Regions from separate parts of the Homo sapiens genome. Here all the other regions are linked to region 3. Evidence: promoter capture Hi-C in 16 types of primary human blood cells and fetal thymus (Javierre and others, 2016). All regions are on one chromosome and are shown on one strand. The core of a region is centred on a gene start or on the middle of the fragment in contact, and the rest is flanking DNA. Distances in the headings are between cores, read along the strand shown.

Evidence for each region. Contacts are between HindIII fragments. The CHiCAGO score rates a contact against its expected background, and 5 or more counts as called.
Region 1: a fragment that was not itself captured here is called in contact with the fragment with the promoter of HS3ST1 in region 3 in 2 of 17 cell types (naive B cells and total B cells); the score reaches 7.9 in naive B cells.
Region 2: a fragment that was not itself captured here is called in contact with the fragment with the promoter of HS3ST1 in region 3 in 2 of 17 cell types (total B cells and naive B cells); the score reaches 6.1 in total B cells.

Annotation. Positions count from the first base shown.
Region 1 is chr4:10,896,642-10,901,213 of GRCh38, forward strand. No RefSeq gene overlaps it. Among named protein-coding and RNA genes, the nearest start is that of LINC02498, 160 kb to the left of the region's middle. The HindIII fragment of the contact is 2,690 bases long and covers 638-3,327 here.
Region 2 is chr4:10,875,328-10,879,978 of GRCh38, forward strand. No RefSeq gene overlaps it. Among named protein-coding and RNA genes, the nearest start is that of LINC02498, 140 kb to the left of the region's middle. The HindIII fragment of the contact is 1,558 bases long and covers 814-2,371 here.
Region 3 is chr4:11,426,864-11,431,496 of GRCh38, forward strand. It overlaps HS3ST1 (heparan sulfate-glucosamine 3-sulfotransferase 1), which reads right to left and starts at 2,031. Exons shown (of 2, transcript NM_005114.4): 1 at 1,836-2,031. RefSeq lists an enhancer at 1,687-1,906 and a silencer at 1,997-2,176. The HindIII fragment of the contact is 3,893 bases long and covers 1-3,364 here.

The sequences.
Region 1 (4,572 bases), core at 733-3,232, 530 kb before region 3:
TCTTCCCCTCTAATAGGATATTCTGCAGCAACTTTAAAAGTATTTTTGAAGATATTTCATGATAATCTAAAATATTCATAAAATCATGTTAAGAGAAAATGCCAGATTATATGTAATTCAAAAATATATCTTATATCTATAAATATATTCATAGAAAATAAATCAGAAAAAGTATATTAATATGTTAATATTGGTTGTCTCTACATTGGAAACTGTTTCTTCTGTCATTTCTTCTGTATTTTTCAGATTATCTGCAATAAACATATATTGCTTCTATGGAAGTAAAAGCAAGGCTGCTATTAATTGGGGCCAAAGAGAAAGATAAGAAATAATTCAAATTGTTTCCAGGAACTGGTAGATAAAAAACAAAACAAGACAAAGAAAAGGGCCCCATCCTTGGGCCTGTGCAGGAGCATAAAGAGGAGAAGCATTAGGTTCTAAAGAATTTTGATTAGCAAGAGCCAGACAAGAACCTCAGGGGTGGTGGCTGCACGTGCATGGGGTGACATGAGGAAAGGTGCCACAGAGCACACAGAAGACTCCCAGTCGGTTGATTTCCTGTGTTTTCTGGCTGAAACATGGAGCAGGCATCAGAGAGGCCAGAAGGATAGCTCAGCATTTCCTGGGCAATAGTCCAAGCTTAATTTTGCTCACAAGGTTTTTACACGTTCCAAATGAGAACACTGTGGTGGGCCAGCTTCCTACGTCTCCACCTACATCACTCATGGGGGAGCATTTACGCCAGGTCTTCCCTGTGAAACCTGATTCTGTATGCCCAGCACTGAGGAGGCCATCTCCAGATGAAGCAGAAGCCCTGCACCCTACCCTACCCTACCCTACCCTACCCTACCCTACCCTACCCTACCCTACCCTACCCTACCGTACCCTACCGTACCCTACCGTACCCTACCCTCTTTTCTTTTTTGAGACAGAGTCTCGCTCTCTCGCCCAGGCTGGAGTGCAGTGGCGCGATCTCGGCTCATTGCAAGCTCCGCCTCCCGGGTTCACGCCATTCTCCTGCCTCAGCCTCCGGAGTAGCTGGGACTACAGGCGCCCACCACCACGCCCGGCTAATTTTTTGTATTTTTTTTTTCTTTGAGACGGAGTCTCGCTCTGTCGCCCAGGCCGGAGTGCAGTGGCGCATGCCCGGCTAATTTTTTGTATTTTTTAGTGGAGACGGGGTTTCACCGTGTTAGCCAGGATGGTCTCTATCTCCTGACCTCGTGATCCGCCCGCGTCGGCCTCCCAAAGTGCTGGGATTACAGGCGTGAGCCACTGCGCCAGGCCGGCAGAAGCCTGATCTAAACTTTAAGGCTGGGTCCAGGCAGTTTTCACTCTAAAGCACATTGCCACCATGCTCTTAAAGGACTGTAGCTCACTCCAGCCACTTGAAGGGAAAAAGAAGTGGTAAAGATACACACAAAGACCAGAGCCGGTCCTGGATCTAGAAGGCCAAGTGGTGTTCAGGAGCTAAGGCTGTCCAGGAACTAGCTAAGCTCTCTTTGTCTTTTCCTGCCTTCATGGTTTCATTCACCTGCTCAGGATGACTCCATTTCACATTTCACATCTACTTCAACTTCCTTTTTCTACCAGCTGGCTTTTTGCACTGTTTAATTCGTCTATTTTATAGGCTATGCTTCACTTTGGCTCACTTGAGACCCAGCATGACTCTCTCACCTCTCACTGTGCTATGGCTTTGAGCAGCAGCTTCCTCTGTTAGCGCCGCTTTTGGTCAATGACTCTGAATTCCAGAGAGAGAAACGATTTGATTGGTCAGGCTGGTTTTCCCTGTGAATGGAAGATGACAGGGCATTGGCTGGCTCCAGGATTTGCTGCCTTAGTCAATCAAGCATGTCTCTTGGCGTTGTCCACTTCTTCAGGTCCTATGGGAGAGGAATTTCTTTACAAAGATGGTGTTAGGCCAGGCACAGTGGCTCACGCCTATAATCCCAGCACTCAGGGAGGCTGAGGCAGGCAGATCACCAGATCAGGAGTTCGAGACCAGCCTGGCCAACATAGTGAAACCCTGTCTCTACTAAAAATACAAAAATTAGCCGGGTGTGATGGCGTGTGCCTGTAGTCTCAGCTACTCGGGAGGCTGAGGCAGGAGAATCACTTGAATCCTGGTGGCGGAGGTTGCAGTGAGTCAAGATGGCACCAATGCACTCTCAGCTTGGGTGACAGAGAGAGACTCTGTCTAAAAAAAAAAAAAAAAAAGAAAAAAGAAAAAGAAAATATGGTGTTGGTGGCATGCCAGGCACTGTGATCAATGGGTCTTCTATATTGTTTATGCAGAAAAGACCACTTTTTTAATGAAAGCGCATTGACACGGCAGGCAGTTACAGCTAAATGAATTTTTAGGTCAGCAATCTAACATGGATCTTTGGACCAATTTATCTGGGAGGGGAAGCCTGTCACCAATGGGCAGTTTATTTCAAAATATGAGAAGAGGGCTCAAAGAAGTCAGAAAAAGAATCTTATTTTTGTTCCTTTAGGTTATAGCATAAAGAGAAATGGTCAGGAATTTAATCATGGTTACTTCCCCTTCTAGGACTACACATTTATTTTCGTAAAGTATATGAAATATAGTTTTTACTCTGGTAAGTGATTTTGAAGTGTTGTCTTGGGGGAACCACTAAAGAAAATATACTTTGACCTTATCTTAGCTTGGTGCATCTCTCCACTGATTATCAAGTTGTGGCTCCAGAAATTTCAGACAGAGTTGGCCTAATTGGGGATACTGCGCATGAAAATGAATTGCACAGCTGGGACCCTCAAAACTGCCTTGGCTAATTAACAGGAAGTAGCTTTGAACTATTTGCTGTATTGGGCATTGTGGTAGTTACTAAATGATTGGATCAAGTCCAAACCAGCTAGAAGGACCCAAGAGTTTGAGGACATGTTTCCCAGATACTATGAAGAGACAGAGGACAGAGGCTCTTGCTATTCCAAGCATAGAAAACTTTCTTTTCTTTACTTTTATTTTTTGGTAGTAGCACATGTGCAATCCTGTGGGGTGGGCAGGGCATTTAAAAAAAAACAAACATTTATTTTTGGGAAGACCACTTGGATTATATATTCTTGACTTCAGCTAAGAAAGATTGGATAAAACATTAAACACGTTGAAGATATAAAGTCTTTTGTTTTCCTCTCATCCTCTTTTTGTCTATCTCTTGTCTCTTTTTAAATTCTAGGCTTGGATTATAGTTCTCATTGTGCCATTTCTTGGCTTGTCAATTGGCTTCTGTAAATCTTCATTTTTTTTCATCTATAGGTCTATTCACACCCACCATTTCTATTTCTATTACTGTTTCAAATGACAATGTAAGCTTCTCAGTATGCTTTTTTTCCAGACATTCCAGTTACCCACTGTTATGTAACAAAATGCTCCAAAACTTAGTGGTTTAAAACAACAATTTAGTGCGGCCCCCTGTTGTCCTGTGGACAATTAGGCTTAGGTGAACTCTTCTTGCTTGAATTGTCTCAGGCAGTTGAAAACAGATGACAGCTAGGACTGGAGATTGACATTTGGGCTGAGATACCTGGGGGCTGGTCAAGTTTATCTCCTTCCGCGTGACCTCTCCACATGCCTAGTTTAAGCTTCTTTACAGCATGGAGGTTTCAAGATAGCAGACTTCTAACATAGCAGTAGGCTTCTCCCAGGCTGAATACTCCAAGAGATGCAGGAAGATGCTGCAGGATTTCTTGTCATAGTCTCAGAAGTTCTGAAATGTCACTTCTGCCATGCTCTATTGAGAAAGTCACAAAGGCCCATCTGGAATGGAGGTGAAAATAGTTAGACTCCACTTTGGTGTCAGTTGCAACATACATCTATAGGGAGGGAAGAAATTGATGACACCGTCTTTGGAGACTGTCAACCGTACCTGTTCTACATTTCTCCTAATTTCCGCTCCATCTGTTTATCCTTCCATCCATTTATCCATCTATCCATCCACTCATCCATTTGTCTGCCCATCAGTACTTTCATTCATCTACCCATCCATCTGTCTACCCACACAGCCATCCACCCATCTATCCATCCTTCTATCCATTCATTCATTAAACAACTACTCAAAGACTGCTATGAGCCAATCATTATTCTGGGTGCTACTGATACATTGCTGAAAAGAGCCTCATGAGGATAATAAATTAGTAGGGGAGACAGGGAGGCTAACAAATATGTAAGTATACAGTTTCAAACTGTGATAATTGTAATTAATCACACCAAGCTTATGACTGAAAAACGAATTGTTCAATTACTAGTAGGTCCCAAAAGTTCTCTTTGAGAGAATGTCACTGAAAATGAATGATAATTGGTCAGGAGAGGATGGGAAAAGACCCTTTCATGCAGTTAGAGAAGCATGAAACAAATTTGTCTTTGCTCAGTTGTAACAACATGAGTGAGACTTTCCCTGAACAATCTTCTAAAAATATAATCATTACCTCTTCTTAGGTTCCCTATTCCCTTTCTCTTCTTGCTCTTTCACTGTGACATTTAACACATCTGAAATATCAAGTTCTCTATTTACTTCTGGGTTTGTTTATTATATGTCATACCCACTAAAATGTAAG
Region 2 (4,651 bases), core at 343-2,842, 550 kb before region 3:
TTAGCCTAGTTCATTTCTGCTGGTGTTTTATTATGCAAATGTCTTGTTCTGGTTTAGTCTGTCACCTTTTAGGCAAGAAAAGAGATTTTAAAAAAATCTTTCTCACTTCTTTAGTTCCTTTGCAGATTTTTTTTTCTCTTTATCTCCCTCCTCGTAAAATTAAGATTCCTTGGGAGGACATAGAGGGCAGAGATCTTACCAGAGCCCCACCCAGATGCAGAAAGTTATGTAATTTTACATCTAAACCTTCCAGCATCTCCTACTGCACCCAATTGAGAGGTATGCTGTTTCACTTTCTATCATTTGCTCAGAGCCAGGAAACAAAACCTGTGATTAACAAACCAAGTCTTAAATGCGATTTTAAAATATTGACAAACAATCTTATGTATGTCTTTCATGCCTAAACTTCAGAGTGTGAGAATTTTTGTGGGCTTCTGTTGATGCAAAGGATACACTTTGAGGCCCTGAGTCCTGTGGGTCTGAACTTCAGCTTCACCCTCTGGAAATGTTCACTTCGATAAGCAAATGCATTCCGGTATTGTAGGATACAGATATTGTAGAAAACTAATTCAAAGTGACCTAACCAAGAGTCTTCTGCACACTGTACCTACATCTTTTTGTTTTAAATTTATTTTAAATATTCTGTTGCACCTAGATCTATGAACGGTAAAATTATAGTAAATATTTTTGACCAACTTTTCCCATATTGAGATACCTATAGTTATCTACCTATATGTATCTATATTTCTACAAATCATTGTTCAGTCATCTCAACATTTTCCACCAACAAAGGCCTTTGCAACACAAATCTAAAGCTTTCCAAATGGCATATGAAGGAAGCAAAGTGGTTTTCAGGCCCAGAAATGCTGACCAATGAGTCTCCTCCGTTCTGACTATGATTTTAGAGAAGGTGCAGCTTCTCAGACATGAGAAAAACCTTTCTAAAGGAAGTGATTAAAACATACGTAAAGATATACCTTTAAATAAATCAATTTCTTCCACTATTATATGTTCTGTTCACATGCCCTCTTTTTCAACTCTTGGCTAATAGCTAGGTATCAAAGGCCAGATGCCTATTTCCAAATCCTGACTCTGGTAGCTACTAAGTCTTTCCCGGCCTCTCTTTCCTCATCCATAGAATAGGATAATAGTAAGACCTACCTCGGAGTGATATTGTGAGTACAAAGTGTTAACCTCTGAGCTTAGCTTCTAGCAAGCATTTATTCAACATTAGTGCTTGTTGCTATTATTTTGCAGTATACACATCTAAATGCCATAAATATTGATCAGTTGCATGCCTGTCTTTAAGTGGATGTTGCAGATGAAGAATTTCTACTGTTCTAACCTATGTAAAGAAAGCATATATCTCTTGGGTTAGGGATTTGTCAGCCATACAATAACAAGAACAAAGATTCAGAGGGGTGGAGGCTCACTAACAAATTTGATTTTTGGTAGGACACATAAGCAGTTGTGAGATACACGCATATTCAATTTTTCCAGCATGTTCTGTTTCCATGCTCTCCAATCTATATTCTTATTATTATTTGATTTTGCCTGTAAGTCAATGCAAGGGAGACAGTGGCTGGCCATGTGGATTTTAAGCCCCTCAGTCCAGTGAGTGTTGCTTCTTGTTATGGGCCATTTTCTTGCCTCTCTGCCTGTAGGCATTGTGTATATAAATTTAGTCAATGTGAGTCATCCACACAAAGGGTACTTTTTTACTCAGTATTCTAACATAAGTCATATTTCTGAATTTCCAGGACCCAGGGCTCAACTCTGAAACATGGCCCTGACTGGTTAATATATCAGGACTACTAGAGCTTAACTATTCAAAGTGTGTCCTTGGGCCAGCAGCATCAGCATCACTTGGGAACTTAACACACATTAGAATTGCAGAATTTCATGCTCCACTCCAGACCTACTGAATCAGAATCTGTGTTTCACTAAGATCCCTAGGTGATTCATACACACTTGAATGTGGGAAAATTGCTCTACTAGAACATAAGGACTGTCCACATGATCCCAAGTAATCCCATATATGGGTGAGCTTCTGCCTATGGGATAGACATAGAGCAAAGATGTGGAGTGGTGGGAGAATAGGCAGTTGAGGGAGAAGAGTAGAGTGTTGAGTTTCCTGATTTATAGGGAAGGTAGTTGTCAGAACATGATGAAATAAGAAATCCTGGGGTCAAGATTTTGAACGAGTGGTTTGAGCAGACGTTGCTTGCTTCTAGGAAGATTATACAACATGAGGAGAAGGGCACACTGTGATTCAGGTGCAAAGGCATCAATTATTGTGAAAGAAAGACCAGGAAGTTGCTGGGTGGCAGGAATGTGAAGGAGTAGAGGAAGCTATAGTCCACGGGTATAAAGCTTAGTATCTGAGCATTGGTCAGTTTTTGCACTAGATGGTGGTACACTCACTCATCACTGCATTTCCTACAGTGATGGAGCAGCTTGCACACAGTAGGTTCTCAACAAATGTTGGTTGCTTGAATGAAAAACAATAATAGCATCTCTTGGGAATCACCGTATTTAGCATTTCGTATATACTAACTAATCTAATCTTCAATATAACCCCATCAAGAAGTTGTTACTATTGTTCTTTTCTTCTTTCTCTTTTCCTCCTCCTTTTTCTTCATCTCTTTCCCCAATTTCCCCTTCTTTCCTTCCTCCTTTTCCTCCTCCTTATCATCATCATCATCATCATCATCATCTTTTCTGATGGAAAGAGTAGATAACTAATGTACAAAGAGTAACTTCCCTAAAGCCATGTAACTAGTGAGTCTGATTCTGGATCTCACACTCTGAGGAAAGAATAAACAATATGATAGAATTTTTACCCAGGCACACAAATCTAGAGCAAGAAACTGTCTTCTTCCTTGGAGAAATGTGTAAGCACATTCTCATCTCTTCTTCATGGTGCTGTGAACTAGCATGCTGACTAGCTTCTTCAGGTCAAAGCAGTTTTGAAAACCTCCATTACATCACTTGACTCTTTTCATTGCAACAGACTCCTTTGGTGGGAAGAAGTTCACAAGCTGAAGTTGGAGCTGAAGGTGTAAATTGATCTTCCCATTAAAATTTATATGAATATATATATAATTTTCAAAAATGTCCTTTTTTTTTTTTTTTTAAGATTGAGTCTCTCTCTGTTTCCCAGGATGGAGTGCAGTGGTTCGATCTTGGCTCACTGCAACCCCCACCTCCTGGGTTCAGCCTCCCGAATAGCTAGGATTCCAGACATGCACCACAATGCCTGGCTAATTTTTTTTTTTTTTTTTTTTGTATTTTTAGTAGAGATGGGGTTTTACCATGTTGGCCAGGCTGGTCTCGAACTCCTGATCTCAAGTGATCCACTCGCCTTGGACTCCCTAAGTGCTGGGATTACAGGCGTGAACCACCACGCCTGGCCAAAAATGTCCTCTTACAACAAGTGTGGAAAAATAGTCATTCTTTTTTGTCACCTCCTCACTTCAGAGATCACACTGATAAGCCTGGCATTCTTTAGAATGCACGTTTCAGAAATTATGAAGATACATGGATTACAAAAAAGGAGAATTAATGAAGGAAGAAGGAAAATATAGGTACAAGTTTTAGAGTATTGTATCGTGTAAGTATAAACTTTCATCATTTTAATTTATAAGGTAACTTTTACATTTAACCTTCAGGCCTAATTAATTGCACAGCCTGTAGCATTTCACTGTACCCACAGCCACTTCCCTCCTGGCATTCATGTCTTCATGTTGAAATTGTCTCCCATGACCATGTGGGTTTTTTGAGACCAAATGGGGTTTTACTCAGTCCTTTGTTCTCAGAATCTACAGATCCTCCATCCATACCGGTCTGGTCTTTTCTTCAAGTTTTCTTGTATACTGTTTGTCTTTTTCAGGTCTCAGCTCACACTTTTCTGACAATGAGCAAAACCAGAAAAGTGTAGTTCCTAGTGCTGAACTCTCTCTCTCTGATATTGTCCCCCTTGGTCATGACGATTTCCCACTTTGATTTTGTGACTTTTTAATAGGCACCGTAAAGGTTCTGTGAGGTCTTTGATAGCTCTAAGATGTAATGCACTCTGGTACTGGCTTTGGTTTCAGATGTGTGTGTGTGTGTGTATGTGTGTGTGTGTGTGTGTAAGACAGAGACAGAGGGAGAGTGACAGCAAGAGAGAGTGAAAGATTTTCCTGTCTCTCCTTATGTCTTCCAATGTTATCTGAACATAAAATAACATAAAACAAAATAAAGAGCATCTGGACTGTGAGCAACAATGAGTCACCTCCCCTGAGCTGCTGAATTTCCTCAAGACTCTATCATCTCCCTGGCGATGTCCCTTCACCTGTCACTCTCACTAGCTATTCTCTTCTCCAATTTAGCTCCGAGCATTTCCCTGAATGGGAGGATGGTGGTATTTTTAAAGACAACTTTTCCTCTGAACTCCAGTGAAGTGTTATATCATTGGTACAGTACCAATGCGAGGCCCAGGGCCCCTCCTGTCTCAGTTCTCAACTGGCAGTTGTCCAGGGCATGTTCCTGACTACTCTGGAATCTATCTGAACTCTTCCATAGGTGATTTCATCTGGGTCCATAGCTTTAAATGATATCAACAAGCCGATGACTCAACAATTTGTATCTTCAGTCCTGGAAACACCTT
Region 3 (4,633 bases), core at 781-3,280:
CTGCAATCCTGTGGGGGAAAATCTAAGCGCTGGATGTACAACGGGAAGGGTAAGGCAGGGATTTGCAGCGGAGCGCGCGTCTCCTGGAATTTCAGTAGGTAAGGCTTATTCTAATTGCACCCAGTGTTACCCAATATTACCAGGAATGCAGAAAGCAAGAAAAAAATCCGAACGTCAAAGGATGCGCTTTGCTTTAGAAATGCAGGGAGGCAGAAGTTGGGTTATTTCTCCCTCCTTTTTTTTTCTTTTTTTTTTAAAGATGGAATTCCTGGAATTAACCCTTGGGTGGAAGCATTTCAACAAAATAAAATGAGATTTGCCTGCAAAGCGAGAACGCACGGGTGGGAATGAAGGATCCTGCCTGTGCCAGGCTGCTGCCTCAGCAGTGTCCAAGCACCCAGCGCCTGAAAGCGGGAGCGTGGGGACTCGTCTGGGGACCCTCTTCCGGGGCTACTGGCGGGAGGCGCAGCCGAGCTGGTGGTGGCGGGGTTTCCCTCCGGGGCTAGGGCTGAGGGAGGAGAAGAGGGCGGACTGGCTCCTTCCGTTCTCGGCCACCCTCCCCGCCACTCCTTGAGGCTGCTCCATGCTAACAGGAGACTGTTTCTCGGAGCGCAGCGCAAAGACAGTGGATTTGGAGTGGCCTCCCTAGAATCCCCCCAAAAGCATCTTGGCACAAGTTGTAGATAAAAATAGCTCATGATAACATTGTGGGAAAGGGAGGAGCGAGACTCGCGCAAGGCGAGGCAAGGGTACCACTGGATCTGCAAAGGAGGAGGAAGAGGGAGGATGCAACCCTTGGCCCAAGAGAGCGCCCTGAGTGTGCGAGGAATCGCTGGCTCCCAGGGGAGGGAAAGAGATGGAAGACCTATAGCGCCTATAACTGCAGAGTTATAGACCTATAACTGCAGAGCCCAGCACACCCCATCCCGCGCCGGCACCCGGCTTTGGCTCCAGCTTCTTCTTCCCATCATCCGCCTACGTTCTGGGTCTGTCCTCCGCTTCCTGGGACAGGCTGGGGCTAGAAGGAGGAGCAGCGCGCCGTCCGCCCCCTGGCTGGTAGAGCGCACCTGGAGAGGTCAAGCTCCGCGAATAAGACCCTTCCTGGGAGCTGGGGTCTAGGCGTTCCAACCGCGGGTTCGCACCCCGCCATCCCTCACCTCCATCCGCTGCCACTACCCAAGGGCCCGGAAATAGAAAACCACGAAGGGGGAAAAAAATCAGTAAAAAGTAACAAGAAAAAAATCAAGACCCTCATGTAATTGGCATTAGGGATGAGAGGTTTATTGTCAGGGCTGTCACCTCAATCTCTCTCTTTGGGAGATGCCTATCTCCAACCAAATGCAAAGGCAAACCCGACCAAGGCTTCTCCACCCCCAAAGGCTCCCTCAGCCGAGTTACTTTTGCGGGCTGTGTCCTCGCCCCAGTTTCTGGCCCCAGGTGGTACCCAGGATCCGTTGAGTGCTGCGCTCTCGCTGCCCTACAGGGTCCTATGGTGAAGCTGCGGTCGCGAAGCGGCCGGCAGGAGCGAACCTCACGACTCTGCAGGGGGGGAAAACATCCAACCCAGTAAGAGTCAGAAATCTGGGTCCCTGTCCTTACAGATCAACCGGTCCCTCGGGACTTCCAGAGCAGAGGTGCTAGGGCAGGAGGTGAGGAGGATGGGAAAATCCCCAGCCTTTGCTTCCTGGTTCCCTCTGCATCCACTCCACCTGCTCCAGCCTCGATTCTTCTTAGGTTCTGCACTTGCCCGAAGTCCAGAACGCCAGACAAAGGCACCTCGGAGCCCTCTACACCTGCGTCCTGCCACTCTCCCACCCCGCGCGCGCCGCACTCACCTGAGCCGCGCCTCTGTCCAGCCCGTCCGGCGCCCTAAATAGGCTCCTAGGCTGGGCCATGGGCAGCACTGCCGAGCACCCGCGGCGGGTAGAGCAAGTTTCTGGATGGCCCGGGGCAGGCGGGCGGGGAGAAGGCGCAGGCACCCACTGAGACCCGGCTGTCGTGGCGGCGACTCCTGGCTGCCAGGGCGCAGAGGACCTTGCAGGCGGGCGTTTTGGTGCTCAATCCCGAGGAGGGGGAGGAGCGGGAGGAGGAGCGGGAGCAAAAGGAGGGGACGGAGGAGGCCGGGCCCGGAGGGAGAGCGCGTTGGGCAGAGGAGGATCGCGAGCGCCCACTGCTGCCCGGCCCGCTCGGGTGCCGCCCAGAGTCCGGCCCGCTAGGTGCCTGGTGCTCCGCTCTGCGCTCAGCTGCTCCGCACAGCCCCGCCTGGCACGCAGCTCCAGCGGCTGGTCGGGTAGTAGTCGGTCCCGCCCACCCGGTGCGGTGGCCCCTGGGGTTTCAGTCCAAGGGGAGGGACCAGCGCTCCAAGAAGGTGAGGCTGCTGGGATGGGTGACTCCGCCGTCACTGCAAACACGGGACGTCCCGTCTACTCCCTTACGCCTGCTTGGTCTGAGCCCGAGTCTACCTCTTCTCTAAGTCGCCAGCTCGGCACTTGTACCCGGGACCTGTGCTCCTCCCACGTGAGTCTGCACCATGCGTATTCCCTTCCTGGCAGGTGACCCACCTTAGGCGCTGGCGCTCCTTCCGCCCCCCGGGAAGCAGGAGGTGCCATCCTCTCCAATTCGCTCTGCAGCCGGACTGGGACCGGAGCGGCGGCCTGGGCCAGAATCCGCGTGAGGAGCCGGCTTCAAAGAGCGCCCTGTCGCCATTGAACACTCCTTTTCCTTTGGTTTAGCGTCGGAGAGCGGACGCCAATTTGCCAGGAGAGCGCGGAAAATTCAGCTTTTTTTTTTTTTTTTTTTTTTTTTTTTTTCCGCTAGTGCACTAGGATTGCAAACGTCAGCTCTGAAATAAAAAGCAGGATATTTCTGCCCCGCTCCTCTATTCCGGAAGCTGGGAGGTTCTGTGGGAGAAAGGACCTGCACCCAATAACTCAATTTAAGATTTAAGGTTTTGAGGGGCGTGGGGTTGGAATCGCCTTGGAGAAACGGGTTTGCCTGCTTACCTGAGCCAAAGGAAGTTGCCCTCAAAGGCAGGTCAGCAATCATACCCCGCCAAAAGCAAATGCACATCAAAGTAACTTCCTTTAAATGAGATTACTGTAGTTTCCATGTCTTCCACATTAGTAAATAAATATTTGGAAGACTTCGAATTTGTGATTTACGTTTAAATATATTTCACCAACATTGTTTAATTAAAAAAAAATCCCATCTAAGAGAAGGTTCCTATAGGAAATTGGCCCTTTAACTCATACACAGATTACCCTCGGCACTTTCAGAAAACAACACAGTGACCAGTATATTCTGTCTTTTTGATACAGCCAGAAGCACCCTGAAAGCTGAGACCTAACTGTGCTTTTGGAAAATAAGCTTTTAGGAGTTGAATGACCTTGTCTACTTCTTTTAGTCAGAATAATGTTGGCATGTCTATTTTAGGTTAAAAAAAAATACAAATTCTAAAAAGTGACTTTAAAGGCCCACTTTGAAAGCCTTAGCATTTAAACTAACATTAGATTTAAAAGAAGGGCTTTTCTCCCCCATTATAGGAAGCTGTGTAAAATCATGTGTGAGGTTGTGAGGGTCAAATGGAAGTCTAAGATAAAGTTCTGCCAATTACTGGTGTCTTTAAGCTTCCACCAGCAGCCAAGCACAGTGCAGATCATGAGTCCTTCAAAATACGGGGTGGTTTTAATGCTCTAAGTTGGTATGATTACTTTTTCTAAAGAGCTCAAAGTGCTTTGGTGCCATAGTATGAATTTCATTACCCATTGTGAGACACAAAGGGGGTTAGCAATGATTCTGTTTGCACCCTGGAAGCCAAAGGCAGGTTACTCACCCACTTAGTTCCCTACCACAAGACCTTGAAAGAAACTGGAACCCCAGGTCTCCAGCCCAGAGATTTTGTTGGAAGTTTCCATTTGCAGGAAATGACTGCAGGGCACATGTGGGAAGTGACAGGAATTTGAGGACTAACATTTTAGTTTTCCTCATTTCTTTTTAAATCTGAGCAATTGTTCATTGATCGATAATCTATGTTCTTACATTCAGATAAATAAAAACACCAACTGGCTATTTTGTTCTTACTTAGTTTTATGTGTATGTCCAGGCATTTGCCACTGCTCCTAAATAGCTCTCCCTGAAGTCTTCTGGTCATGAGTTAGGTTTCTTATCCAGAAGCTCATGTAGTGCCAGAGCTTAGCTCTCCTATGACAACACAATCACATTATTGAAACATCTATTTAGGGATCTGTCTTCTCTAATAGATTATAAACGCCTTGAGCTTGGGTATCGTGATTTAATGATGAATCCTCCATGGTATCTGAATCCCAGAATCCTACAATCCTGCATGGTATCTGAAACATACTATGCTCTTAAAAAAAAAAAAAAAAAACTTTGTAAATGGAACTTCCCTCAAGGAGTCAGGGTTTAAGTCAAACATGTTTCCCTTTCAAAGCCGTGGGCATGAGAATAGAGGCTGTTAGGAGACACAGTAGTAGTTGACTGCAAAAGTGTCTGTCAGTCAGTTGTGTGGCCCAAGACTCTTTTTATCAGTTCCAACAACTGAAAAATGAGAGGGTTTTAGTGGAAGATCTCTGTACTGCTAATATTTTAAGATCTCGAAGTCTTTATTGAGCAC